Linked DNA regions of Homo sapiens: regions 2, 3, 4, 5 and 6 are each linked to region 1. The links are contacts of gene promoters, found by promoter capture Hi-C in blood cells and fetal thymus (Javierre and others, 2016). All regions are on one chromosome and are shown on one strand. Each heading gives the region's core, a stretch centred on a gene start or on the middle of the fragment in contact. The rest is flanking DNA. Distances are from core to core; before and after follow the strand shown.

The links. The method cuts DNA at HindIII sites, captures the fragments that hold promoters and counts their contacts. A CHiCAGO score of 5 or more calls a contact.
Region 2: a contact is called between a fragment that was not itself captured here and the fragment with the promoter of OR1G1 in region 1, in 11 of 17 cell types (endothelial precursors, M2 macrophages, M1 macrophages and 8 more). The highest score is 19.7, in endothelial precursors.
Region 3: a fragment that was not itself captured here is called in contact with the fragment with the promoter of OR1G1 in region 1 in 8 of 17 cell types (M1 macrophages, M2 macrophages, M0 macrophages and 5 more); the score reaches 15.5 in M1 macrophages.
Region 4: a fragment that was not itself captured here is called in contact with the fragment with the promoter of OR1G1 in region 1 in 4 of 17 cell types (M1 macrophages, M0 macrophages, endothelial precursors and 1 more); the score reaches 11.5 in M1 macrophages.
Region 5: a fragment that was not itself captured here is called in contact with the fragment with the promoter of OR1G1 in region 1 in 6 of 17 cell types (M2 macrophages, M1 macrophages, M0 macrophages and 3 more); the score reaches 12.0 in M2 macrophages.
Region 6: a contact is called between a fragment that was not itself captured here and the fragment with the promoter of OR1G1 in region 1, in 8 of 17 cell types (M1 macrophages, endothelial precursors, M0 macrophages and 5 more). The highest score is 15.6, in M1 macrophages.

The regions. Positions count from the first base shown.
Region 1 is chr17:3,125,791-3,130,194 of GRCh38, reverse strand. OR1G1 (olfactory receptor family 1 subfamily G member 1) reads left to right here and starts at 2,644. Exons shown (of 1, transcript NM_003555.1): 1 at 2,644-3,585. The coding sequence starts at 2,644. The coding sequence ends at 3,585. The HindIII fragment of the contact is 3,090 bases long and covers 1,609-4,404 here.
Region 2 is chr17:3,466,387-3,470,790 of GRCh38, reverse strand. It overlaps SPATA22 (spermatogenesis associated 22), which reads left to right. Exons shown (of 9, transcript NM_001170698.2): 2 at 1,393-1,508; 3 at 3,237-3,365. The coding sequence starts at 1,466. Among named protein-coding and RNA genes, the nearest start is that of SPATA22, 3.2 kb to the left of the region's middle. The HindIII fragment of the contact is 927 bases long and covers 1,558-2,484 here.
Region 3 is chr17:3,444,844-3,449,247 of GRCh38, reverse strand. SPATA22 (spermatogenesis associated 22) reads left to right here. Exons shown (of 9, transcript NM_001170698.2): 6 at 99-441; 7 at 2,647-2,776. Among named protein-coding and RNA genes, the nearest start is that of OR1E2, 13 kb to the right of the region's middle. The HindIII fragment of the contact is 4,617 bases long and covers 1-3,558 here.
Region 4 is chr17:3,428,056-3,432,459 of GRCh38, reverse strand. No RefSeq gene overlaps it. Among named protein-coding and RNA genes, the nearest start is that of OR1E2, 3.6 kb to the left of the region's middle. The HindIII fragment of the contact is 1,055 bases long and covers 2,009-3,063 here.
Region 5 is chr17:3,411,271-3,415,674 of GRCh38, reverse strand. OR3A3 (olfactory receptor family 3 subfamily A member 3) reads right to left here and starts at 4,305. Exons shown (of 3, transcript NM_012373.3): 1 at 4,191-4,305; 2 at 3,504-3,697. The HindIII fragment of the contact is 6,248 bases long and covers 31-4,404 here.
Region 6 is chr17:3,387,664-3,392,067 of GRCh38, reverse strand. No RefSeq gene overlaps it. Among named protein-coding and RNA genes, the nearest start is that of OR3A2, 3.6 kb to the right of the region's middle. The HindIII fragment of the contact is 947 bases long and covers 1,701-2,647 here.

The sequences.
Region 1 (4,404 bases), core at 1,395-3,894:
GCTTTAACCATCTGAAACTTATTCAGGTAAGTGCTATTAGGTTGGAATTTAAATTAATTTTCCAGAGACTTAACCAGCTTGTCCCAGCATTGTTCGTTCAATCTCTTCTTCCTTTTGATTGGCAGTGCCACTGTTAGTAAAGCAAAGTCTGAGGAATACTGTGCTCTGCTTCTGGGTTTTCTGTTTTTTCCTTTGATGAATTGTATTGAGGAGAGAAGTAACATATACCACAGTCCCTGGGGCATCCACATACTAGCAGAAGATAGTTCGGTAAGACATAGCCATGTTCAGGCCAGGCACGGTGACTCACGCCTGTAATCCCAGCACTTTGGGAGGCCAAGGTGGGCAGATCACCTGAGGTCAGGAGTTTGAAACTAGCCTGGCCAATGAGGAGAAACCCCATCTTTACTAAAAATACAAAAAAAAAAAAAATAGCCGGGTGTGGTGGCGTGTGCCTGTAGTCCCAGCTACTTGGGAGGCTGAAGCAGCAGAATTGCTTGAACCCAGGAGGCAGAGGTTGCAGTGAGCCAAGATTCTGCCACGGCACTCCAGCCTGGGTGACAGAGTGAGACTCCGTCTCAAAAATAAATAAATAAGAAATATCCATGGTCAGAGAGAGAATAAGACATAAGATGCCACTATTGCCTAGTAAGTAGTAATTTTAGTGTACGTAACTAAGGCTTACAAATCCATAGGTTATATTAAACTCTGAAGGTAAAAAAAAGCGGCACAGGGAAACTGATTCCGTGGGTTAATCACTCAGCTGAAACACTGTTCCATCCCAAGAATTTCACCTAGAAAGAATGCATTTGTTTGGAACACTTATCTCTCTGTAACCGTAGTGTTTCCCTACATATTCCTATGGCCAGGACTCCATTAACTCAAAGCTACCACTGAACCTACTAACAAAAAGGTTGGCTGGGTGTGGTGGCTCATGCCTGTAATCCCAGCACTTTGGGAGGCCGAGGCAGGTGGGTCACCTGAGGTCAGGAGTTCAAGTCCAGCCTGGCCAATGTGATGAAACCCCATCTCTACTAAAAATACAAAAAAAAAAAAAAAAAAAATAGCCAGGTGTGGTAGCAGTGGCCTGTAATCCCAGCTACTCAGGAGGCTGAGACAAGGGAATCACTTGAGCCCAGCAGGTGGAGACTGCAGTGAGCTGAGTTCGTGCTACTGCACTCCAGCCTGGGTGACAGAGTGAGACTCCATCTCAAAAATCATAACAATAATAATAAAGGTTCAGGCTAATTCTTATGCCTGATATTACCTCTATAGCAAAGCCCCTTTCCATTCTTCCCACTCTTTCCATTCTCTGGGGTTTATGTATTTACATGATAGATTCATACTGAGCATCTGTGTTGTACCAGCCTCAAGGCTAATGCTAGATTTCAAAGCTGAGCCAATTAGGCACCATCTCTGCCTACTCCCAGTGATGCTCACAGCAGAATGAGGGACACTCATATAAACAGACACTCAGAATCCAAGGTGACACGTGCTGTGATGGGGGAGGCACTGCATTAGGAAGGTCACGAACCTGAGTTTCTGGTGAGAGGATGAGTTGGGAAAGACTTCCCAGAAGAGGTGACATCTAAGGTGAGACCTGAAGCTTAGCTCGTCTGATAAATGGGATGGGAAAAACTATTTCAGCCTGAGAAAGCCTAAAGGTGAGGGAGTATCTGGGCCTTTAAAATAATTGAAACTATGATTAGTGCATAAAGTGTGGAGTGGAGGAGGGAGTTTCATGAGGAACTGGGGATGTCTGTAATAAATGACGGTAAGATCCAGGACATTCAGCCGTGTTCAGTTTAGAGTTTATCCTGGGAGTAATGAGGAGTGTATGAAGGATTTTTCAAGCAGAAAGACAAGAGTCGAATTTGATTTTTAGCAAGCCTATTCTCTGTGTATTTAGAACAGCAGGTGGCAGGTGGGCATACCTGGGGGCATGGAGATCAACTGCCCAAATCCAAGTGAGAAATCACAGTGCCCTGAATGACATGAGCTGCAGCTGGGACTGATGGTGACCAGTAAACAGAGAGACGTCAGTAAATTGTAGCCATATTGAGAAGGTAAAATTGCCAGGCTTTGGTGGTGGTTGGATGTAGGCAGGGAGGGAGAAACGTGGGTCAATAATGACGCTCAGGTTTCTGGCCAGACCCGCTGTGTAGATAACAGTGATAATGATTTCCATGTTAGCCATGCTTTTCCCAATTCCAAAACCCCTTTCCAGGAGCTGTCTTTTTAATTATTGGTACAATGGGCTCATTTGACCTGTAAAATCTTGGGTTGTATAAATGTCATAGTTTCTACATGAACACTACCAGAGCAAAGCCAGCAAGCCCCTCCAGCCCAGCCCCAAAATACACATATTGGCTTAATGCTTATGGAATAAATTTAAAAGCCTCTCATTGCATTACAAACAAATCTGTGGTTTCTCATAGCACCAAGCACAGGAATTTGCAAATATTTAGTCGAACCCTATGAAATGGCCATTTTTGCAGGTCCCAAAGAGTCAAATAGTGGAGATTTCCTATGATCCAACCTCACACTAGAAGATCAACACTGGAATATTGCATAATTTTCAGAGTTCACAATCCAGGGCTTACCAACGTCACCCAATTAACCCAACTTTCTTCCTACAGACAAATGGAGGGGAAAAATCTGACCAGCATCTCAGAATGTTTCCTCCTGGGGTTCTCTGAGCAGCTGGAGGAGCAGAAGCCCCTCTTTGGGTCCTTCCTGTTCATGTACTTGGTCACGGTGGCAGGCAACCTCCTCATCATTCTAGTCATCATTACTGACACTCAACTCCATACCCCCATGTACTTCTTTCTAGCCAACCTCTCCCTTGCAGATGCCTGCTTTGTGTCCACCACAGTCCCTAAGATGCTGGCAAACATACAGATCCAGAGTCAGGCCATCTCCTACTCAGGGTGTCTACTACAGTTGTATTTTTTCATGTTATTTGTGATGCTGGAGGCATTCCTCTTGGCGGTCATGGCCTATGACTGCTACGTGGCCATATGCCACCCACTTCATTACATTCTGATCATGAGCCCTGGGCTCTGCATCTTCCTCGTGTCTGCATCCTGGATCATGAATGCCCTCCACTCCCTTCTACACACACTTCTGATGAACAGCCTGTCCTTCTGCGCAAACCATGAGATCCCACACTTCTTCTGTGACATCAATCCCCTCCTGAGTCTGTCCTGCACAGACCCCTTCACCAATGAGCTGGTGATCTTCATCACTGGGGGTCTCACAGGACTCATTTGTGTGCTTTGCCTGATTATCTCTTACACGAACGTTTTCTCGACCATCCTGAAGATCCCATCAGCTCAGGGGAAGCGGAAAGCCTTTTCCACCTGCAGCTCTCATCTCTCCGTGGTCTCTCTCTTCTTTGGGACTTCTTTTTGTGTTGATTTCAGTTCTCCCTCAACCCACTCGGCCCAGAAGGACACAGTTGCATCAGTGATGTACACAGTGGTAACTCCAATGTTGAATCCCTTTATCTACAGTTTGAGGAACCAAGAAATAAAGTCTTCCCTGAGAAAGTTAATCTGGGTTCGGAAAATTCATTCCCCTTAGTGGTAGTGACTTGACATCCAATATGGGGGTCTCCATGCACCTGCGTTCACCACAGTAAGCAGTGAAGAATGAAAGATGGAGAGAATCTAGAGACCTCTGTTCCAGTACCTACGATCTGAACCTGAAATATTCATGTCTAAGCTACAGGACTGCATCATAACCCATCATCAGGCCAATGTCACAGGTGAAGTTCTTACAATTATGTTCTAAAACCACAGCCATCCAGATGTATAATATAATGTCATGCCTTATTATATTTACTATAGTTAATAATATTGATGATTTAATAATGTTATTAGTTAATGCTTTTTAAACAACATGGGACAGCTCATGACTGAAATAAGGGAATATCTGGCTGGGCTGTTGTATAGGGCCAAGAATAAAATTCAGGGAAGGACGACCTTCCCCCAGCATCACTGTGATCCTGATCACTCGGATCCCCACCCACAGTGTTTCTGCCACAGGCACTGCCCGTATCTGTGATGCTCCCATGCTCAGTGATGAGGAACTGGGTCTAGGAAGGGCTTGATGGAGATGGCATCTTCAGACAGACTCACTGCAGTGTCTTACCAGGCCTCCAAGACCCATAATCCTCCTGCCACCTTAGACTTCATGTGAAAACCTCAGGTTCCTCTTCAGGGCAATTTTTTCCACACTCATTTCATCTCTGCAGCCCCAATGCTTACCACATGGCGTAATGCCTGGTACCATTGATAGGTGCTGAATCCCACTGAAATGGTTACAACTTAAAGTTAGGGGAAAAGAATGATTTTTATGGACACTTTATGCTCTCCTGCCTGAATGATTAAAGCCTCCTCC
Region 2 (4,404 bases), core at 772-3,271, 340 kb before region 1:
ACCTCGTGTTTCCCAAGTTGTTTTTTTTTCTTTTTTTTTTGAGACGGAGTCTCGCTCTGTCGCCCAGGCTGGAGTGCAGCGGCACGATCTCCGCTCACTGCAACCTCCGCCTCCCGAGTTCATGCCATTCTCCTGCCTCAGCCTCACGAGTAGCTGGGACCACAGGTGCCTGCCACCACGCCCGGCTAATTTTTTTGTATTTTTTAGTAGAGACGGGGTTTCCCTCTGTTAGCCAGGATGGTCTTGATCTCCTGATCTCGTGATCCGCCCGTCTCGGCCTCCCAAAGTGCTGGGATTACAGGCGTGAGCCACTGCACCCGGCCTGTTTCCCAAGTTTTATTTTTACAAACGATATTTGAAAGTTAACACCTCGGCCTGACTTGCATTATTGCTTAGTTGTGTATGTGTCGGTCTGTCTGTCTCATTGGGTTGTGAATTTGGAACAGAAGTTACCTGGTTTGGGTTTGTATCTTGCCTCTTCTTGCAGTGGGCAAGTGTTCGTTGTATTAGATTGGGGATGAAATGTGTTAAGGGGCTAAACGTGCAAAATTACAAGAGAAATTCTATTGTAAAAGAAGAAAACTAAGGAAAAACTTGTTTCACTTGTTGAAGTTGTGGAAATGGAGTGGAAACTTGTCATTACAATTATTCTAGATATGAAGGGAGGACTTAGTCTTTTTTTTTTTTTTTTTTTTTTGAGATGGAGTCTGGGTCTTGTTGCCCAGGCTGGAGTGCAGTGGCACGATCTCAGCTCACTGCAACCTCGGCCTCTCGGGCTCAAGCGATTCTCCTGCCTCGGCCTCCCGAGTAGCTGGGATTACAGGCGCCCGCCACCACTCCTGGCTAATTTTGTATTTTTAGTAGAGATGGGCTTTTGCCATGTTGGCCAGGCTGGTCTTGAACTCCTGACCTCAGGAAGACTTAGTCTTTGATATTATATAATCCAGGCATTTCAAACTGATGCAAAGGCAGATGTCCTGCACAATGCCTTAAAGTGGGGCATGGAGGAAGTTCCCGGTGGCTAAATACTGTGTTTCCTCCTTGGCCTTGGAAGCATGTACGTTTGCCAACGCTGTGGTCCATTTTCCTCTTTGTAGGTGTGGTTCAGAATTCTCTTTGTGGGTGCGGGATTCTGAAATAAATTACATATACTGTGTGAAAAAATGCACATATGTTTACGAAGCAAGGTTACAGTTGCCCTAGTCATAACTTAATTTGAACAGGGTTGGAAAAGTGGATTATGGTGTAAACTCTTAGAAAGCAAAGGACTCCCTAAAGTGTTTACGTGATCAGGTTTGAAAGTAGTTTACAACCATAATTTCAGTAATCACTGGGCTGAGGATTGGGTTTTATAGTTGAGACAATACGAGTTATAAGTTTCTTTCTTTGCAGGTCTAGTGGGACAATGTCATATTATAAATTTGGAATGCTGAATAGAAAATTATAGATTTTGATATTGAAGGAAATGAAGCGAAGCCTAAATGAAAATTCAGCTCGAAGTACAGCAGGTATTGAACAACTTTTTATTTTTAAATTTTCTGTATAGCATATAAAGCTTGTATAGTTTATAGATATAACATTGGAAATAAATTTAAAATAGATTGAACAGTTAATCTAGCCTCTTTACTTTTTAGGTCCAAGGAAGTAAAATAACTTACTCAAGACAAAACATTTAGTGGTAGAGGTGGGAGTAAGATCAAAGTTTCTTAGATTTATTTTGATATTCTTTCTACAAATTCGATGTGCTTGAGTTATTCTATGCTTTAAAACTGAAAACAAAGAAATAGATCTATTTTTGTTTGTATTTGTGACTTACTTGTTAAAAATATTTCCGGAAGCACTTCTGTCTTTCTAATAGCTTCTCCTATCATTTTTGCTTTCCCAATTTATTAGTATAAAGACAGATGGCAAGGATGATGAGAACCAGGGGAATGATGATGCATAATGAAGATAATAGTAACTATTATTTATGGTGGATTAACTGTATTCAAGACATTAATTATATATATTAATTTATTTAATCTTTACACCAATACCCTGAGATAGGTTATTATAATCATTTCTGTTGTTCAGATGAGAAAAACAAGGCTAAAAGAGGTTAAATAAGTAATCCATGAAGTAGCAGAATCAGAATTTGAACCTAGGAATCTGGCTCTTAGTCCATGCTCTTAATCATTATGCTATCAGTATATGTCATATTGGCACAAAGAGTTTAGGGAAATTGCCCAAGATCATACTCTGAAATTGTAATTCAAACCTACTTTGAAGTCATAATTCAAGACCTAGGCGGTCTGATTCCAGAGCCCACATAATTCTCCCAGCCTTTCATCAGAGACTGTTCACAGAGTCTGTATTTGCCTGTAGAACAATTGATGATGACCAGTTAGAGAATGGTACAGTGGCAAGAGATCCAAACTGATATTTAGGAATCTTGTGTCCTATCTAGATTCTTCCACTGACTTGCTCTATAGCAATGCACAAGCTTTTTGAACTTCTTTTCCCTTCGAGTTCCCTAAGTTTCAAAGTTTATATTTTGTGACTTTTGACCTGAATTGAGATCCTAGATCCGCCATCTGGAGGAATCGGTAGTAGTATTTATTCTCATTTGGACTGGATATTATTACTCTTTAAGGCATTCTCAAAATGATCCACAAAATATATAATTACAGATACCCGAGGTGCTTGTTAAAATTGCAGAGTTTTGAGTTCCAGGCTAAATCTGTTGAAATAAAATCTATGAGAGTGGAGTCTAGGAACTGCACATTAAGCAGAATTCCAGATAAATCTTAGTCCAATGAAACTTTGAGAACCAAGGCCCAAAAGGGTGTGCCACTATTGTCCAAAGCATGGTTCAGAGTTTGGTTCTTCCTCACCTCTGTTGTACTTCAAAGGTCCCCTGCAGTCGATATGGTAACAGGCAAGCACAGGAGGGGGATAAGGAAAACAAAAAGTGGATTTGGAAAGGTTGGGGGATGAGGGGGGAGATGGGAATTACTTCCATATGGGAGGAATTAAAACTGTTAGAGTAGAATAAGAAAAGTTTTTTGAAGAAACAAATTAGGCTATTCAGGATCTTAAAAAGAATGTAAAAATCATTCTAAGGTTATAGAAATCTATAAGTATATTAGCATATAGAAGTAGATAAATGTAAAGTGTGTATTATACTAGTAATTATTTTACAACTAGATCTGCTTATTTGTCTATTATGTACTAATTTATTGGTACATTCAATTTAGGCTGTTTGCCTGTTCCGTTGTTCAATCAGAAAAAGAGGAACAGACAGCCATTAACTTCTAATCCACTTAAAGATGATTCAGGTATCAGTACCCCTTCTGACAATTATGATTTTCCTCCTCTACCTACAGGTAAGAAAATTAATAAGGTAAAAATTTTCAGGAAATACAAAACTAGGATTATAGAAAATTGTAATTTATATTATAATGAAAATAGAAAGTTTATTTTTTCTTCTTTCCATTATCCACATATAGAAATTACATAGCACTTTCTGAACATTCCAGGTCAGGAGTTTAAGTTTCCTTATCTACAAGGGTGGCTTAGCATTTAAATGGAGTATCTTAGATTTGGAGTCTTTGTTCTAATAAAGTAGTAACATATATTGTAAAAAATATTTTTTCTTTGTCAAAATTCACGTGGATATTGTGTTATAGCCTATACATTTGGTGGTAAAGAATGGAAACACTTGAATTGCCTCAGGAGTGGGGATAAGTGTGCATGGGAACACAGGAAAAATGGGAAAAAAAAGATAGATTTTAGGAAGTGCAGATGCCTGGAAGTATCTGGTGCCTGGCCGTAGTCTTTTTCTCTTTTTATGGCATTTTTGCCTTCATTGATTTGTTAGCTGTTTATGGTCCAAATGTGATCCCCCCCAATTTATATGTTGAAACTTAATTGCTGGTGTGATAGTATTAAGATGTGGGGCCTTCAGGAGGTAATTAAGTCATGAGGGCAGAGCCCTCATGAATGAGATTAGTGACTTTATAAAAGGTATGAGGGAGCTTTTCCGTCCTTCTGTCATGTGAGGACACAGTAAGAAGCCTTGACTTCCCAGCCTCCAAAACTGAGAAATACATTTATCATATTTGTAAATAACCCGTTCTAAAGTATTTTGTTATAGTAGAGTCCAAAGGGACTAAGACACACCTTCATCCAGTTGGCTTCCTTACAGCTTCAACTGGCACATGAGCTAAGTTGCCCTTCCTGTGAGTTTGCATAACCTTTTAGTTCTAGTTCTCAGAGGTCACCAGTAGACTGCCCTCTGGATCTCTTAATTCACATCCTAGAGACAGCTTGTGATTCAGCTCATCTTTTAAGTAAGGCCACTGAAATCCTGGCTTAGGTTTGGGTTAGGCCTCTTACCTCTGAACCAGTTAGCTGAGGTTTGGT
Region 3 (4,404 bases), core at 1-2,500, 320 kb before region 1:
AGTCATAAATTGCCATATAAATGAATTTTTCATTATTAATTTTTTTTGTAATTAAGAAACCATATAGAAACAAATGCTTTTTTTTTGCACTATTACAGCTACAGAGATGGTAACAAAAATACCAGCTTGAAAACTTGGAATAAAAATGATTTTAAGCCTCAATGTAAACGAACAAACTTAGTGGCAAATGATGGAAAAAATTCTTGTCCAGTGAGTTCGGGAGCTCAACAACAAAAACAATTAAGAATACCTGAACCTCCTAACTTATCTCGCAACAAAGAAACCGAGCTACTCAGACAAACACATTCATCAAAAATATCTGGCTGCACAATGAGAGGGCTAGACAAAAACAGTGCACTACAGACACTTAAGCCCAATTTTCAACAAAATCAATATAAGAAACAAATGTTGGATGATATTCCAGAAGACAACACCCTGAAGGTAAATGTTTAAATACAAATTAATGACTTATTTACATTTTTAAAAATATGAGGTAAATATTTAGAAAACTACAGAGATAAGAGCGCCTGAAATAAATTCCATGACATACATTACTTGATTAGCATAAATATTCAGTTCCATTGAAGTGGATGAATGTTAGTTTCCAAAATATTTTCTTAGAGGGTATGAATGGCTGCTCCTTTTCCTTTCAAACTTTAGAGTTTTCTGCTGGATTCTGACTTTCACTTTACACTCATTTTAAAGATAAAGACAGTTTATCCATTGTTTATGAAGTTACCCAGGCTCTTGATATGTCATTCTAAGTATTTTTCAACAGAGGTCAGCAAACATTTTTCTTAAAGGGCCAGACAGTATTTTTGGCTTTATGGGCCGTACTGTCTCTGTTGCAGCTACTCAGCAATACTACTCAACTCTGCCACTGTAGCTTGGAAGCAGCCATAAGCAATACATAAATGAATGGACACTGCTCTCCTCCAACAAATGTTTACACAAATAGATAGCAGGTTAGATTTGCACTGCAGGCCATAGTTTTCTTTATGATCAACTTATTATGACCTTTGCTTTATGATCTTGTCCTAGTCTACCTTTGTAGCCTCATATTTCATAGTCTACTAATTGTCCAATGCTCTAGCCACTTCAGACTCGTCACAATTCTCTAAACATAGCATACACTCTGTGCTTTGGTTTATATTCTTCCCTATACCTGTATCTCAACTGTACTTCCTCTCTACGCTCAGTGCTCTGATTGCTCTTTGTAAATGTTATTTATATATTATGTGTGCTGGTTATTCCTCATCTCTGCTCCCTGGCCCCTTGGCCCACTTGATTCTTCACCTGCCCTTCTCTGTTGTGGAAGGCTGAACTGTCCTATGTAGTGCATCATCCTGAGATTGTTTACTTGCTGGCTTTTGCTAGAGGTCAGCCAGTAGGAGTCACTGGTACGACATCATAGGGTGGGAGGAAAGGTTGGGTTTTCTCACTTTCTCCTGTCTTAAATGTTACATCACCAGCAGTGGCTGTGTCACTGCATGATGTAGCCCCTTCATGAGTATAGCTTTCCTGGGCGTGATACTTTTATTTTCTCCTCTTGTCCTTTCAGCCTAGGAATGGTAACAACTTCTTACAGTTGTTAGTTTTTGTTCTGCCCTTATGTCTGAAAAAGCAATCTTTTCAAAAAGCCATCGGGGTAAAATTTGTTTTTGCATGTTTTGTTTTTTGTTGGAAATAAGATTAATAAAGCATGTTTCACAGTGGTTCTCAATCTTATGTTTCCTTGTACTCAAGAATTATATGACATAATCACCTTAGTAACAGTGGTTTACTGTGGCCATCATCAACAGGAGGCATGTTAGAATCTTCGTTAAGCGGGGGAAGAGGGAAGAAACTACCTGTATTTTGAAAAAAGGTCCCATCATATGTTCTTCACAACCCTCACCCTCACAAAGGAAAGCGTCCCCTTGCCTTTGAAAATTAGTATTTTAACACACTGTATTCTTAGTTGATCTTCAAAAATGCTAAGAACATTTCCATCTCAGGGCTTTTATACTTGCTGTTCCCACTGTCCTCATTCAACAACCCACTTAAAATAATAACCCCCATCTCTCTCTCTTTCCATTTACCTTGTGTGTTTTTTTCCTAAAAAAAAAGTACATTTCCTGACATTCTGTTATATGTTTACTTATTTTTTAAATCCTCCACTAGACAATAAAATCTTCGAGGACAGATATCTTGACTGTTTTGTCCATGAATTTTTCCTAAATAGCTATGTTTGGCATGTAGTAGGTGCTCAGTAAACACTTTTGAAACGAATGAATGAATGAATGTGTCTGGCTCCTTCCCTAGAGTCCCCTAGAGTGTGAGTGCACTAGGGAAAGGAATGGCCTTACCTATATTTGTCACAGGATCTGGCATATGATGCTTTAAAATAGTCAATGAATGAATGAGTGAATGAATACCTATATAAATAATTCTCCTCTTGATTGTCTCTAAGTGCACCCTGGTTTCTCCATCTGTAATATAGTATTGATGGCCTTATTTTAGGGAAGTAACTATACTAAAATTTTCAGTAGTTCTTTTTACACACTTGTCCATTGTAAGGACTTAGAATTTTTACGTAGAAGGTAAACGAGTATGATGAAAAAAACAAATATTTTTCTAATACTATGTTTCTTATTTTTTCAAAAGGAAACCTCATTGTATCAGTTACAGTTTAAGGAAAAAGCTAGTTCTTTAAGAATTATTTCTGCAGTTATTGAAAGCATGAAGTATTGGCGTGAACATGCACAGAAAACTGTACTTCTTTTTGAAGTATTAGGTAGGTAAAATACTTTAAAAATACTTCAGTAATACTCTCTGGAGGACAGGTTTTAATGTCTGATTAGTCCTTTTTCTTCCAAATAAAACAGTCTGCTTTTTGCTACTCCCTAAAGTGTATTCAAAGAACTGGTTTTAATAATAGTCCCTGTGGTAGATAGAATAATGCTCCCTAAAAATGTCTACATTCTAATTACCAGAATAATGCACCCTAAAATGCCTACATTCTAATTACCAAAACCTGTGAATGCTACCTTATATGGCAAAAGAGACTTTGCAGATGTAATTAAGTTAGGGATCTTGAAATGGGAAGATTATCTTGTATTATTTGGGTGGGTTCAATGTAATCACAAGGGTCCCTTATACAAGGAAAGCATTGAAAGATGCTACCTTGCTGGCTTTGAAGATGGAGGAAGGGGCCATGAGCCAAAGAATGCAGGCATCTTTGAGAAGTTGGAAAAATTAAGGAAATAGATTTTACTCTAGAGCCTCCAAAAGGAACATGGCTTTGATGACTCATTATAGACTTCTGACCTCCGTAACTATTAAGATAATGCTTTTGTGTTGTTTTAAGCCAACCACTAAGTTTGTGGTAATTTGTAAGCAGCAATGGGAAACTGATACAGCCTCCTCCTTTTCCTTTTGTCCTGTTATATATATATATGTAAATATAAATGTGTGTATATATAGATGTAGATTTCTATCAGTGCAGTCATTTCACATGTTTAACTTTCACCTAAAAATGATTCCAGTTTCTCTCTTGTTACCATTAAGGAAAAAGCTTTATTATATAAAGTGACATTGGATTCAATAGAGACTCAGACTTTGAGTAAAGCACGCTGTATTCATTTTCAATTGCTGCGTAACAAAGTAATGGAAACTTAGCAGCTAAAAACCACACCCACTTCTTAACTCAAGTTTTGTAGATCAGAAGTCCATGTGGGCTTGACTGCGTTCTATACTCAGGGTATCACAGTGCTAAAATCAAGGTGTTGGCTGGGCTGGTTTTGTTCAGTTTTCGTTTTTGGCTTTTTGGAGGTTTCCATGCCTCTGGCCTCTGGAACTCCCATATACTTCAGGGATTCTTTATCAAGTCCTACTCATGTTGCTTGAAGCATATCTCTTAGCTGGTTGGCATGACTGTTACTACTCTGTTGAAGCTTGACTTAGCTCTTATTTTGTTCAGTTCTTACCAGTAGCCACGTAACTGCAATAGCAGATGGTATTCTATTTCATGTCAGTTTTCTGTCAGAGCTAGAATACTGTCAGAGGTAGAACATCTTATTTCAAAGATCTTAACCCCTGTTGGACTTCCCACTAAATTGCTTTTTCCTGTGTGAAAGATGCCTTTGGCTCTCACCTCATTTACAGAATATAAATATTAAAATAACCTGAGCCTATTAAAAGGACATGCTGATTCCATTCATTTCCCCAGGTTCTCTTTGGTGAGTTGTTCAGGTTCACTCCAGAATAATCCTTTTAAGAATATCACAATACTCATTATAAACACCAATAGACATTCTTATCAAGAAATGAAGGGGGTCCATGCTTTTATATGTGATGGTTAGCTTTCATAGTGCTATAATAATCCTGAGTTCCTAGGCTAGACTCTAAACTTATCAAAGGTAG
Region 4 (4,404 bases), core at 1,287-3,786, 300 kb before region 1:
AAATTTTGAATAAATTTTTTTTACTCATTTTCCTGAGCAAGTGTTCACATCAGCCTGTCTCCTAACTTTGTTTTCTTTCTTTTTTAAATTTTATTATTATTATACTTTAAGTTTTAGGGTACATGTGCACAATGTGCAGGTTAGTTACATATGTATACATGTGCCATGCTGGTGTGCTGCACCCATTAACTCGTCATTTAGCATTAGGTATATCTCCTAAAGCTATCCCTCCCCCCTCCCCCCACCCCACAACAGTCCCCAGAGTGTGATGTTCCCCTTCCTGTGTCCATGTGTTCTCATTGTTCAATTCCCACCTATGAGTGAGAATATGCGGTGTTTGGTTTTTTGTCCTTGCGATAGTTTACTGAGAATGATGATTTCCAGTTTCATCCATGTCCCTACAAGGGACATGAACTCATCATTTTTTACAGCTGCAAAGTATTCCATGGTGTATATGTGCCACATTTTCTTAATCCAGTCAATCATTGTTGGACATTTGGGTTGGTTCCAAGTCTTTGCTATCATGAATAGTGCTGCAATAAACATACATGTGCATGTGTCTTTACAGCAGCATGATTTATAGTCCTTTGGGTATATACCCAGTAATGGGATGGCTGGGTCAAGTGGTATTTCTAGTTCTAGATCCCTGAGGAATCGCCACACTGACTTCCACAATGGTTGAACTTTTCTTAATTTTTATGTCTGCATGTCTTTTTACCTGACCCAAACCTAAAATGAACTTTCTATTTGCTTACATACCATACTTTAGTTTATCTATATCTAAGAACTAAGTCATACCTAAGGCCCTAAAAGGACTTCTCAAGCATGGGGAAGGGAACCAAAGTCTGCTTAAGAACCTCACTCATTTGTTCACTCATTCATTTATATTAGTTATTTTGAAATTGTTTTAAAAATTGACACATAATGTACATATTTATTGGGTACAGTGTGATATTTTGATACATATATACAATGTACAATGATCAAATCAGGAAAATCAGCATTTCTATCACCTCAAAATTTATCATTTCTTAGTATTGAGAACATTCAAAATTCTCTCTTCTAGTTATTTGAAAAATGCAATAAATTGTTTACCAGAGTCATCCTACAGCGCTATAGAACACTAGAACTTATTCCTCCTATCCTATAATTTTTTATCTATTAACTAACCTCTATAACCCCACTTCTTCCCCTTCTCAGCCTCTAGCAGCCAATATTCTACTCTATACTTCTATACTGCCAACTTTTTAAGCTTCCACACACGAATGAGAATATGTGGTATTTATTTTTCTGTGCCTGACTTATTTATCAAAATATCCTTCAGGCTCATCCATGTTGCCATGAATGACAAGATTTTATACTTTTTACTGACTGAGTAGTATTCCATTGTGTATATATACACCATATTTTCATTATTCATCTGTTGATTGGCCACTTAGGTTGATTCCATATCTTGGCTAACATAAATAGTGCTAGGAGTGAAAATGTCTCTTGGACATACCTATTTTCTTTCTTTTGCATACACACCTAGTAATGGGATTGCTAGATCAATTGGTAGTTCTATTTTTAGCTTTTATGAGAACTTCCATACCATGTTCCATAATAGCTGTACTAATTTACATTCCCACCAACAACAATATATAAGAATTATCCTTCTCCATATCTTTGCCAGCATTTGTTATTTTTAGTTTTCTTGATAATACTCACATTAATTGGGGTGAGATGAGGTCTCATTTTGGTTTTGATTTGAATTTCCCTGATAATTAGTGATATTGGGCATTTTTTCACACACGTTGTTCATTTGTATGTCTTTTTTTGAGAAATGTTTATTCAGATCCTTTGCCCATTTTTTAACTTAGATTATTATTATTATTATTTGCTGTTGAGTTGAATTCCTTGTACATTTTGGATATTAAAACCTTACCAAATGAATAGCTTGCAAAGATTTTCTCCCATTCTACAGGTTTTCTGTTCATCCTGTTGATGGTTTTCTTGCTGTGCAGAAGCTTTTTAGTTTGATATAATCCAAGTTGTCTATTTTTTCTTTTGTTGGCTGTGCTTTTGAGGTATTATCCATAAAATATTTGCCCAGAGTAAGTTGCTGAAACATTTTCCCTATGTTGTCTTCTAGTAGTTGCATAGTGTTGGGTATTACATTTAAGTCTTTAATCAATTTTGAGTTAATATTTGTATATGGTGAGAGGTAGGGGCCTAGTTTTATTCTTCTGCATGTAGATATTCAGTTTTCACAGCACAATTTATTGAAGAGACTGACTTTCCCAGTGTATGTTCTTGGTGTTTTTGTTGAAAATTGGTTGGCTGTAAATACATGGATTTATTTCTGGATTCTCTATTGTGTTCCATTGGTCTGTCTGTTATTATACCTGTACCGTGCTGTTTTGATTACTATAGTTGTGTAGTGTAGTTTGAAGTCACGTAGTGTGATACAGTGAGTTTTTTTCTTTTTGCTCAGGATTGGTTTGGCTATTTGGGGTGTTTCGTGGTTCCATATAAATTTCAGGATTTTTTTTTTCTATTTCATGAAAGAATATCATTTCTATTTGATAGGAATTACATGGAATTGGTAGATTGCTTTGGGTAGTATGGTCATTTTAACAATATTATTTCTTCCAATCCATGAACATGGAATGTTTTTCCTTTTTTTTTTTTATCCTCTTCATTTTCTTTCATATAATTTTCCTTATAGAGATTGGTTAGATTTTTTTCCTAGGTAGTGGGATTGCTTTCTTGATTTATTTTCAGCTACTTTGTTTTTGGTGTATAGGAATGCTACTAATTTTTGTATGTTGATTTTGTATTCTGCAACTTTACTGAATTTGCTTAATTTAATTTAAATCTAAGACATTTTGGTGGGATTCTTAGGCTTTTCTATAGATAGGACTATTTATCTGCAAAGGACAATTTGACTTCCTTCTTTTTGGTTTAGATGCTGTCTATTTTTTCTCTTGTCTAACTGCTCTTGATAGGATTTCCAGTAGCATATTTAATAAGATTAGCAAGAGTACACATCCTTGTCTTATTCCAGTTCTTAGAGAAAAAGCTTTCAGCTTTTCTCCGTTCAACATGATATTAGCTGTGGGTTTGCCATATTTGGTCTTTATTGTGTTTAGGTACATTTCTTCTATACCTAATTTATTGAGAATTTTTTTCATAAAGTGATGTTGAATTTTATCAAATGCTTTTTCTGTGTCTATTGAGATGATCATATGGGTTTTGTCCTTCATTCTGTTAATGTGATGTATCTCATATGTTGATTTCCATATGTTGAGCCATCTTTGCATTCTTGAGATAAATCCACTTGAATCCACTTGAACATAGTGCATAATCTTTTTGATGTGCTGTTGGATTTTGTTTGCTAGTATTTTGTGAAGAATTTTTGCATCTATGTTCATCAGGGATATTGGCCTTTAGTTTTCTATTTTTGTTTTTTCGTCTTGTTTTAGTATCAGGGTAATGCTATCCTTATAGAATGTGTTTGGAAGAGTTTCCTCCTCTTCTGTTTTTTGAAACAGCTTGAAAAGAAATTGTATTAAGGGTTTTTTTTCTCTAAAGTTTTGAACAATTCAGCAGTGAAACCATTTGATCCTGGACTTTTTTGTTGTTGTTGTTGTTGGCAGATGTTTACTTACAGATTCAATCTTATTACTCATTATTGGTCTGTTCAGGTTTGTTTTTTCTTCTTGGTTCAATCTTTATAGGCAGTTTATCTTCAGGAATTTATCTGTTTCCTCTAGGTTTTCTAATTTGTTGGTATATGGTTGTTCATAATATTTTCTAATGATCCTTTGTGTTTCTGTGGTATCACTTATAATGTCTCCTTTTTCATTTCTGATTTTATTTATTTGGGTTTTCTCTCTTCTTAATTAGTTTAGCTAATGGTTTGCCAATTTTGTTAAACTTTTCAGGAAAATCAACTTTTCATTTTATTAATATTTCACATTTTTAGTCTCAATTTTATTTCTTTCTGCTTTGATCTTTATTATTATTTCTTTCCTTCTACTACTTTCAGGTTTGATTTGTTCTCACTTTTCTAGTTCCTTGAGGTATATTGCTAGGTTGTTTATTGGAAATATTTCTTATGTAGGAGTTTGTTACCATAAATTTCCCTCTTAATATTGCTTTTGCTGTATTCTATAGGTTTTGGAATTTTGTGTTTCTATTTTTATTTTATTTTAAGTTACAGGGCAAATGTGCAGGATGTACAGGTTTGTTACACAGGTAAATGTGTGCCATGGTGATTTGCTGCACCTATCAACCCATCACCTAGGTATTAAGCCCAGCAAGCATTAGCTATTTTTCCTAATGCTCTCCCTCCTACTGCCCCCCCACCCCAACAAGCCCCAGTATGTTGTATCCCTCTCTGTGTCTATGTGTTCACATTGT
Region 5 (4,404 bases), core at 1,905-4,404, 280 kb before region 1:
CAATTATTATTTAACATTGTTCTGAAAGCTTTAGCCAATGCAAGAAATTAAAAGACCATATATTAGAAAGCAATAAAACAGTTGTTGGTTTTTCTTTTCTTTTTTTTTTTTTTGAGTTGGAGTTTCGCTTTTGTCACCCAGGCTGGAGTGCAGTGGCATGATCTTGGCTCACTGCAACCTCCACCTCCCAGGTTCAAGCAATTCTCCTGCCTCATCCTCCCGAGTAGCTGGGACTACAGGCACCCGCCACCACGTCTGGCTAATTTTTGTATTTTTAGTAGAGATAGGGTTTCACCATGTTGACCAGGCTGGTCTCGAACTCCTGACCTCATGTGATCCGCCCGCCTCGGCCTCCCAAAGTGCTGGGATTACACGTGTGAGCCACCGAGCCCAGCTGGAAAACTCTTAAAAATATGAAAGTATAGGAAAATTTCAAGATAAAAAGTAAATATAAAAATAATATACGATAATATGTTGTTTTCTTATATATACCATAATAAACTAGAAAAAATAATTGTAAAAAATTCACATTAACAGAAATGACTTTAAAATCAAGCAAATTCTTGTGGTAAGATATTCAGTAAGTAAAAGGAAAGACAAAACTGTATACTTAAAATATGATCTCACTGTTACCACATACACATATAATAAACAGAAGGAAACTCTGAGCTATTGCAGTGGTTTTCAAAGAGTGGTAGTAATATAATGGGTTTTAGTGTTTTTCATTGGAGATTTTAAATGTTAACATATTACCTATATTATTTTTTTAATGATTATTAATATACTTTTTATGAATGATCGAATTATTCCCACCCTCTCAGTGGCTACGACTTGTAAATTTCAAAGTCCCTTGCCTTGCACGCTGCGGTAGTTGCTATCCACAGAAGAGCCTTGGGTGGGTTCTGGGAGTAGACAGCAGCTCTCCCAGGCTATTTTACTTCCTGTCAACCAAATTCCATTTCTGGTGATGAGCTATCTCCTGGCTTGCCAGTAAATGCCTTTTCTCTGACATCCTGAGGTGATTTGGGTCTTTTCTCCAGTTACCAAGAATGTGTCCAGTGGTCTCTGATCGCATTGCTGCTCCAATTGTCAAAGCACTATCAGATGGGTTTTGTGACTCTTAAAATCCTGAGATCGTTTCGGAGAATTCACACTACCTTCCTGCATCGTGTTTTTCTTTCTTTGTAAAGATGTTAGGAAATCCACCGGGCATTCATTCCTCGCTGATGCTCTATGAAAATGTACTGCAGTGAGTCTCAACCTCAGCTGCACAGTAGAAATATGTGGAGCTTCAAAAAAATCCTGGCCGGCCATGGTGGCTCACGCCTGTCATCCCAGCACTGTGGGAGGCCGAGGTGGGCGGATCATGAGGTCAGGAGATCGAGACCATCCTGGTTAACATGGTGAAACCCCGTCTCTACTGAAAATACAAAAAATTAGTCCGGTGCGGTGGCGGGCACCTGTAGTCCCAGCTACTCGGGTGGCTGAGGCAGGAGAATCGCTTGAACCCGGGAGGTGGAGGTTGCAGTGAGCTGAAATTGCGCCACTGCACTCCAGCCTGGGCGACTCCGTCTGAGACTCTGTCTCAAAAAAAAGAGTCAAGGTAGTCTCTAAAGACTGACCCGCAGTTTCATGTGGATAACGTGCATCTCACTGGAGTCTCTACAGCAAGAGGATGTCTCCAATGTGAGGCTGTCTCGATGACCAGCCTTCCAAATGAGGTCTCCACTGTGTGTGCTCAGGCCACGGGGAAGCTGCAGAGGGGATGCCACATGGATGAGAATGTGGATGCGGTAATCTCTAAGAGGTCCTTAAAGTTTTTTTTTTTTGTTTTTTGTTTTTTTGTTTTTTTTTGAGATGGAGTCTTGCTCTATCACCAGGCTGGAGTGCAGTGGCATGATTTTGATGATCTTGGCTCACTGCAACCTCCACCTCCCAGGTTCAAGTGATTCTCCTGCCTCAGCCTCCCGAGCAGCTGGGACTACAGGTGCCTGCCACCACGCCCGGCTAATTTTTGTATTTTTAGTAGAGACAGGGTTTCACCATGTTGACCAGGTTGGTCTCGAACAACTGACCTCATGATCCGCCCACCTCGGCCTCCCAAAGTGCTGGGATTACAGGCGTGAGCCACCGCATCCATCCAGGTCCTTAAAATTCTAAGATCACATGACTTGGGAGTGGGAAGAAATCATCTTCTGGTATGATTATCTTGATGAAATTGGTAATTGTAAATGCTTTGCAAATTGGCAAATCAGTGGGTAGGTAACAGCTCTGTACATATGTTCTTTTGAAGAAGATATTTTTGCGATAGTTTTCCTCCAAGTCCACTTCCCAAATATTTCAAGACTTGACGCCAGTTGCTGGCTGCTGAACTCATCTTTCCGTGAAACTTTCCCATCTCAAAAGGATCACTCTCCCTCTCACTCCTGCCTGTCTCTCTGTTTCTCTCTTTCCCTGTCTTTGCCTCCCTCCTGCTGCTTCTCTCCTAAACTCCCACACATATTATTTCATGCAACTTACTATGCTTTACCTTCCAGTTCAGTCATTGCTCTATAGAACATATCTTTCTTACATCTCTGTAAGTAATTCGAGGACAAAACATGTTTGATTCAGTCTTTTCAATAGCAGTAACCATCATAATACTTCAATATTTGTGAAACGAATTATCAATTGTTCTAACGTTCGTACAATTTCAGAGAAAGAGAGCATCAGTATAAGCTAGAGTTGTCATGGAAGACTTTCCGGACACATTAATATTTGGGCTAGACTTTCCTGGCTTAGTGTGCTTTAGGGGAGGTACAGGTTAAATGCAGGGTGCAAGGTTGTGGCAGGGACTCCTTTGTGTTAACAGGACAAGCAGGTCATGGACCAGTCCACATGCTTCTTTTTACTTAAACCTCCCAAAACAATACGGCCCTTAGGAGGGGCCACACCTTACAGACAAGTAAGTCATGGTCAGGGGTAGAAGAACCACTAAACAGCTGTTGCCAACCCTCAGACAGCTAGAGATACAATTGCTTAAAACCAGGGGGATTCTGGGATGACCTCAGGTCACCCTGAGACACCCAGAGGGTCTGACAGGGTCCCCACGAGGCCCACTGGGGAGCCCTCCTGCACGACCACTCTCGAGGCTCCCCTTACGAGCTGTGACAGCTCCCTGCTCTGGAACTCCAGCCCATCCCTCACGCGCCCAACATGACGAGGCTCAAGGACTTCGCTGGAGCGAGGGTTCCCCGCTGCCTGATGCAGTGGGTGCGGGCAGTGAACTGGTCTGAGCGAGTCTCCTCACACTCATGCTAACAGGCAGCAGGCTTCATCTGAGAGAGGCGAGCACGGGGAAAACCACAAAAGAACCCAGGACCTCCGGGCTGTAGTGCCAGGTCTTCCCCTAAATGGCTTTCCCTGTCAGGGGCATCCATCGCACCAGGCTTACTAAGCTGATGGCAACAGAAGCCCCTTCTCTATTCTGTAGGAGCAGAGGAAGGACTCAGGAGAACACTCACCCTGGCAAGGGCACGGAAGCCACTGAGGTTTCCTCAGGAAAGAAGGGGAGGAGCTGCACACACCCCGTTATCCTCCCGGAGAGCGAGTGAGGGGCTAATGACTGAGAAATGAGAGGAATCAAGCTGCTGTCTTCTCTGTACAGGGCTGTGTTCACTACAGCATTCTCCTCTGGGGCACTCAGAAACTGGCTCTCCTAGGAGAGAGAAGGATGGGGGGAGAGACACGGAAAAGGAGACACCTCAGGCCCTTCATACTCATGGCAACGATGCCTCACACCTTCTGGTATTTAGACTTTCTCACAAGGAAGGCTTTGCCTCTAGCCCTGGCTTTGTGGGCAGGTTGTTACGGCAGATGATGTCGGCTCTGCTTAATGTGGGTCACTGAGGCCTACAGGACTTGCCTATGTCCTCAAAGTCCCCCAGGAAGGGAGAGGTGCAGCTGGAGACTCTATATGGGCTTTCTAAGGAGACATTTTCTTTTCTTTTCTTTTTTCTTTGAGACGGAGTCTCGCTCTGTCGCCCAGGCTGGAGTGCAGTGGTGCGATCTCGGTTCACTGCAAGGTTCACGCCATTCTCCCAGGTTCACACCATTCTCCTGCCTCAGCCTCCCGAGTAGCTGGGACTACAGGCATCTGCCTCCACACCCAGCTAATTTTTTGTATTTTTTTAGTAGAGACGGGGTTTTACCATGTTAGCCAGGATGGTCTCAGTCTCCTGACCTCATGATCCGCCTGCCTCTTCTTTCTCAGATATCAACCAGGGCATTTGAGCAGAGACAAGCAAATTCCTGAACTTGTCTTGGACCTGGGGAGGGAGGAGGAGGAGGCCCCAGAAGGGATATAAGAGGGGAAAGTGTTCTTCAAAGCTGGTTTCCTGTTGAGCCCTCAGTAGTGAGGCGCTT
Region 6 (4,404 bases), core at 925-3,424, 260 kb before region 1:
CTATACACCAACAACAGTCAAGCAGAGAGCCAAGTCAGGAATCCACTCCCATTCACAACTGCCACAAAAAGAATAAAATATCTGTGAATACAGCTAACTAGGGAGGTGAATGGTCTTTACAAGGAGAACTACAAACCACTGCTCAGAGAAATCAGAGATGACACAAATGAGCGGAAAAACCTTCCATGTTCATGGATAGGAAGAATAAATATTATTAAAATGGCTATATTGCCCAAAGCAATTTATAGATTCAGTGTTATTCCTATAAACTAAACTAAACATTGACATTCTTCACAGAACTAGAGAAAACGATTTTAAAATTCATATGGAGCCAAAAAAGAGCCCAAATAGTCAAGGCAATCTAAAGCAAAAAGAGCAAAGCTGGAGGCATCACTTCAAACTATACAGCAGGGGTACAGTAACCAAAACAGCGTGGTACTGGTACAAAAACAGACACATAGACCAATAGAAGAGAATACAGAACCCAGAAATAAGATTGCATACCTATAACTATCTGATCTTCAACAAAGCTGTCAAAAACAAGCAATGGTGAAAGAATTCCATATTCAATAAATGGTGCTGGGATAACTGGCTAGCCAAATGTGGAAGATTAAAACTGGACCCCTTCCTTACACCATATACAAAAATTAACTCAAGATGGTTGGTTCTGTTTCTGGATTCTATTCTGTTCTATTGATCCATATGTTTCCTTCTTAACTTATTCTTACTAAAATGTTAAAATCATTCTATCTCTGTCATATCATTTTTTCCTGATATATTTTTTATACCTATATTGTCTTTTCCAACCTGGCCTTACCCTAAAACAATCTTTTTATTTCCTTTATTATAGCAGTGAATTTTGGTCTCTGTAATGCTGTTTGCCTTAAATTCAACTTTGTTATTAAAAGATAAAGCATGCTATCTGCATTTATTACCATAACACATATTTTTCTTTATTATTGTTAAATAAATTTTTACATACCATCCTTTTAATATTATGACTTTTAAATTCTCGAGTTTTTAATTTTGACTAATTCCTTGGTTGGTTGCATTGCATCAAGTCATTTTTAAAGGACTAGTACATCCATGTTATATTTATTGAATTTTCACATATTTTAGATTTTTCTTTTGCATATGTATTTATATATCTGAAGGATGACTTAGCTAGGTATAAAATTTGTGGACATCTGTTCTCTCATCTATAACTCATTTTCTGAAATAGCTGTGAAAAAATCTGAAGTAAGGCTGATATTCTCTCTTTTCTCTACTTCTTATATGGTCATCTTTCCCCCCACTGATGCATGTAGGATTATTTTTTCATCAGTCTATATTTTTGTATTTGCTGACTTTTATTATAATTTTTTATAGCACAAAAGTTTCCTTTTGATTTTCAAGTCTGCACTTGCATTTCTAAACAGTTTTCTGCTATTATATCTGGAACATCATCGTTTCTTTTTTTCCTTATTCTGCACTTTAGTAAGACCAAGAATTTTGTAGCAAGTTTGAAGTTTATATGCCACAATCAATATACACGAAATGAGAGATTTGTTTTTAAAAATAAAAATGGAAAACAAAATTTATAATATTATAATTATGTAAATATTACCACTTCAGAAGCAAGATGTATGATTGAACTCATAGATTTAAAAAAAAATCCTACATTATTAAACCTGTGATAGTCAGAGCAAAGGTTACAAGCTTAATGTCAAATTAGTTTCCCTTTCTCACACTCCATAAATTTCTCAAATCAGGCCACATTCCATTTGCTCATTTTTGTAGCATATGTCAATTTCTCTCTGTTCCTCCCTCCCTCCCTCTCTTTCTTATTTATACTCTCCCCAACCCTATTTCTTTCTTTTTTATTCTTTTTTAATGGCTGAGCCTCTTGAGATAATGTTCAGACATCAAGACACTTCATCACTATATAATTTAGAGTTCTGAATCTCCTCAAAAGAACATTCTCGTATGTAACTACAATGTCGTTGTTATGTACGAGTCATTCAGTGCTGCTAGCAGAGACTTAGATGGTAGGTCCAGGGCAAGCAATCCACTGCTGAGTTCAGAGGCACTGAAGCTGTTTGAAGCATTGAAGAATCCTCGCTGGGAGCAGTGTACATTATACCTGGTATTATAGTTGATAAAGAATAAAGGGAGAGCAAAATCTTTTAATAGGATTACCTAGGGGTCCTATAATTTCCATTTTATTGCCATTTAGAGAATTAAAGAATGTTCTCATCCAGAGAGAGGATAAGATACAGCCTTGGCTGACTCTAACACATTTTGTTAAAGATGTAGCTTTTTATTTTATTCTGAGCTTTGATCAGGAACTGGTATTGATTTTTTAAGAAGCCTTTTTGCCTCTGATGAGGTAATCCTAAATGTTTAAATTGAACATATTAGTGTGATTTCAAATATGAAAAGATGGGATTATTTGTGCTTTAGACATCATTTTGATATCAATTTTCACAGATAGAACTGGTCTATAATTGTATTCGTGTCTTGTATTTTTCTTCTTTAGTAAATTAGCTATTTTAATTTTACTTAATTTTTGGTTCTGGAATGAATTATATAGAGCCTGGGGATTATTCCTTGAGCGTCTGAAAAGGGGAGTATTTGGTCCTTGAAATTTTGAAAAACCCAGAAAGCTTCCTCACCCAAGGATTTTTTTACTGTAATATAATTTAAATATAGTGCACGAATCTTAAGTGTACAGCTTGCTGAATTTGACACCCGTGTGACCACTGTACAGATCAAGATACAGAGGATTTATGTCACTTCAGAAATTTTCCTTGTGCCCCCTCCTCGTGAGTCCCCACCCACATCCAGAGGTAATGACTACTCTGGTTTCTACTGCCAGAGAGAAATTTGCCAGCTCATGAACTTTGAATAGATGGAATCATACAATATTTTTTTTTCTGGATTCTTTTACTCATCATAATGTTTTAAAGATTTATCTATGTCGTGTGAATCATCAGAGTTCAATCTTTTTCACTGCTACATAGTACACCATTGAAATGATTATGCCACCGTACTTATTCTTTCTGCTGATGAACATTTGGGTTTTTCAGTTTTAGCTACTATGACTGAAGCCTCTGTGAGAATTCTAATACACATCTTTTGTTTTCATTTATTTTGGGTACTTCAGGAGCAAAATTTCTGGGCTGTAGGCTGGGTAAATATTAAAACTTTGGGCACTGCAAATAGTTTGCAGAACAGTTTTATTCTTTTACATTCTTACTAGCAATATATGAGGGTGTTAATTTCTCCACATCCTTGCTAACATTTGATACTATCAATCTTTTGTTTCTAGCTATTCTGATGGGTATGTAGTAGTATCTTACGATTTTAATTTGTATTTCCCTGATGAATAATAATGTTGAATATGTTTTCATATGCTTGTCGGCTTCGAGACTTTCATTAGAGATAATTTTTTGGCTTATTTTATATTATTAGTCTAAGTTTTCCCTCCTCAAATATTTATTTTAATGGTCTAGTCAGACATTGTATATATTGAGCCAGGTTTTGCAGTTTGTCTTTGCGTAGAAGTCTTATTTTGATTTTTAAATTTACTTGAGAAGTTTTAGAAAGATTTAAAAAATCTTCCTTTGTGATTATATTCTTTTTAAAAGTGCTTGCCATGTAACAGTTCCTCACTAAATGTTAGCTTTATTTTTATTTTTTTTGAGACAGAGTCTCACTCTGTCGCCTAGGCTGGAATGCAGTGGTACAATCTCGGTTCACTGCAACCTCCACCACCTTGCGGGTTGAAGTGATTCTCCTGCCTCAACCTCCCCAGTAGCTGGGATTACAGGCGCCCTTCACCACACTCAGCTAATTTTTGTATTTTTAGTAGAGACAGGGTTTCACCATGTTGGCCAGGCTGCTCTTGAACTTCTGACCTCAGGTGATCCACCTGCCTCGGCCTCCCAAAGTTCTGGGATTACAGGCGTGAGCCACCATGCCCGACCAGCTTTTATTATTTTTATTGCAAGAATTTCCATTACAACCTTGCAATAGTGAAAAATTAGAAAAACATAAATATTTATTAATAAGGGAGTGATTAAACTGTGGAAGATCCACAGTATAGGATTGTATAGCATGAAGTTAAGAATGAAGGCATTCTATTTGTGGTAATAAGACAAGATCTTCTAGATGTATTGTTTCATAAAAAAAGGAAACTGAAGAATAATAGATATAAATAGAATGACACTATTTATGTTTCAAGATCAGAATAATATATATAAATAGAATGACACTATTTGTTTCAAAATCAGAGCGAGAGAGCAAGAGTGAAGGTGAGAGCAAGAGTGAAGGTGAGAGCAAGAGATTCAACTGATAATTGGGATGGCGGTAGAGGTTGATTTGGGTGGTAGTCAAACAGAACTTCAACTCTGAATTTTTACA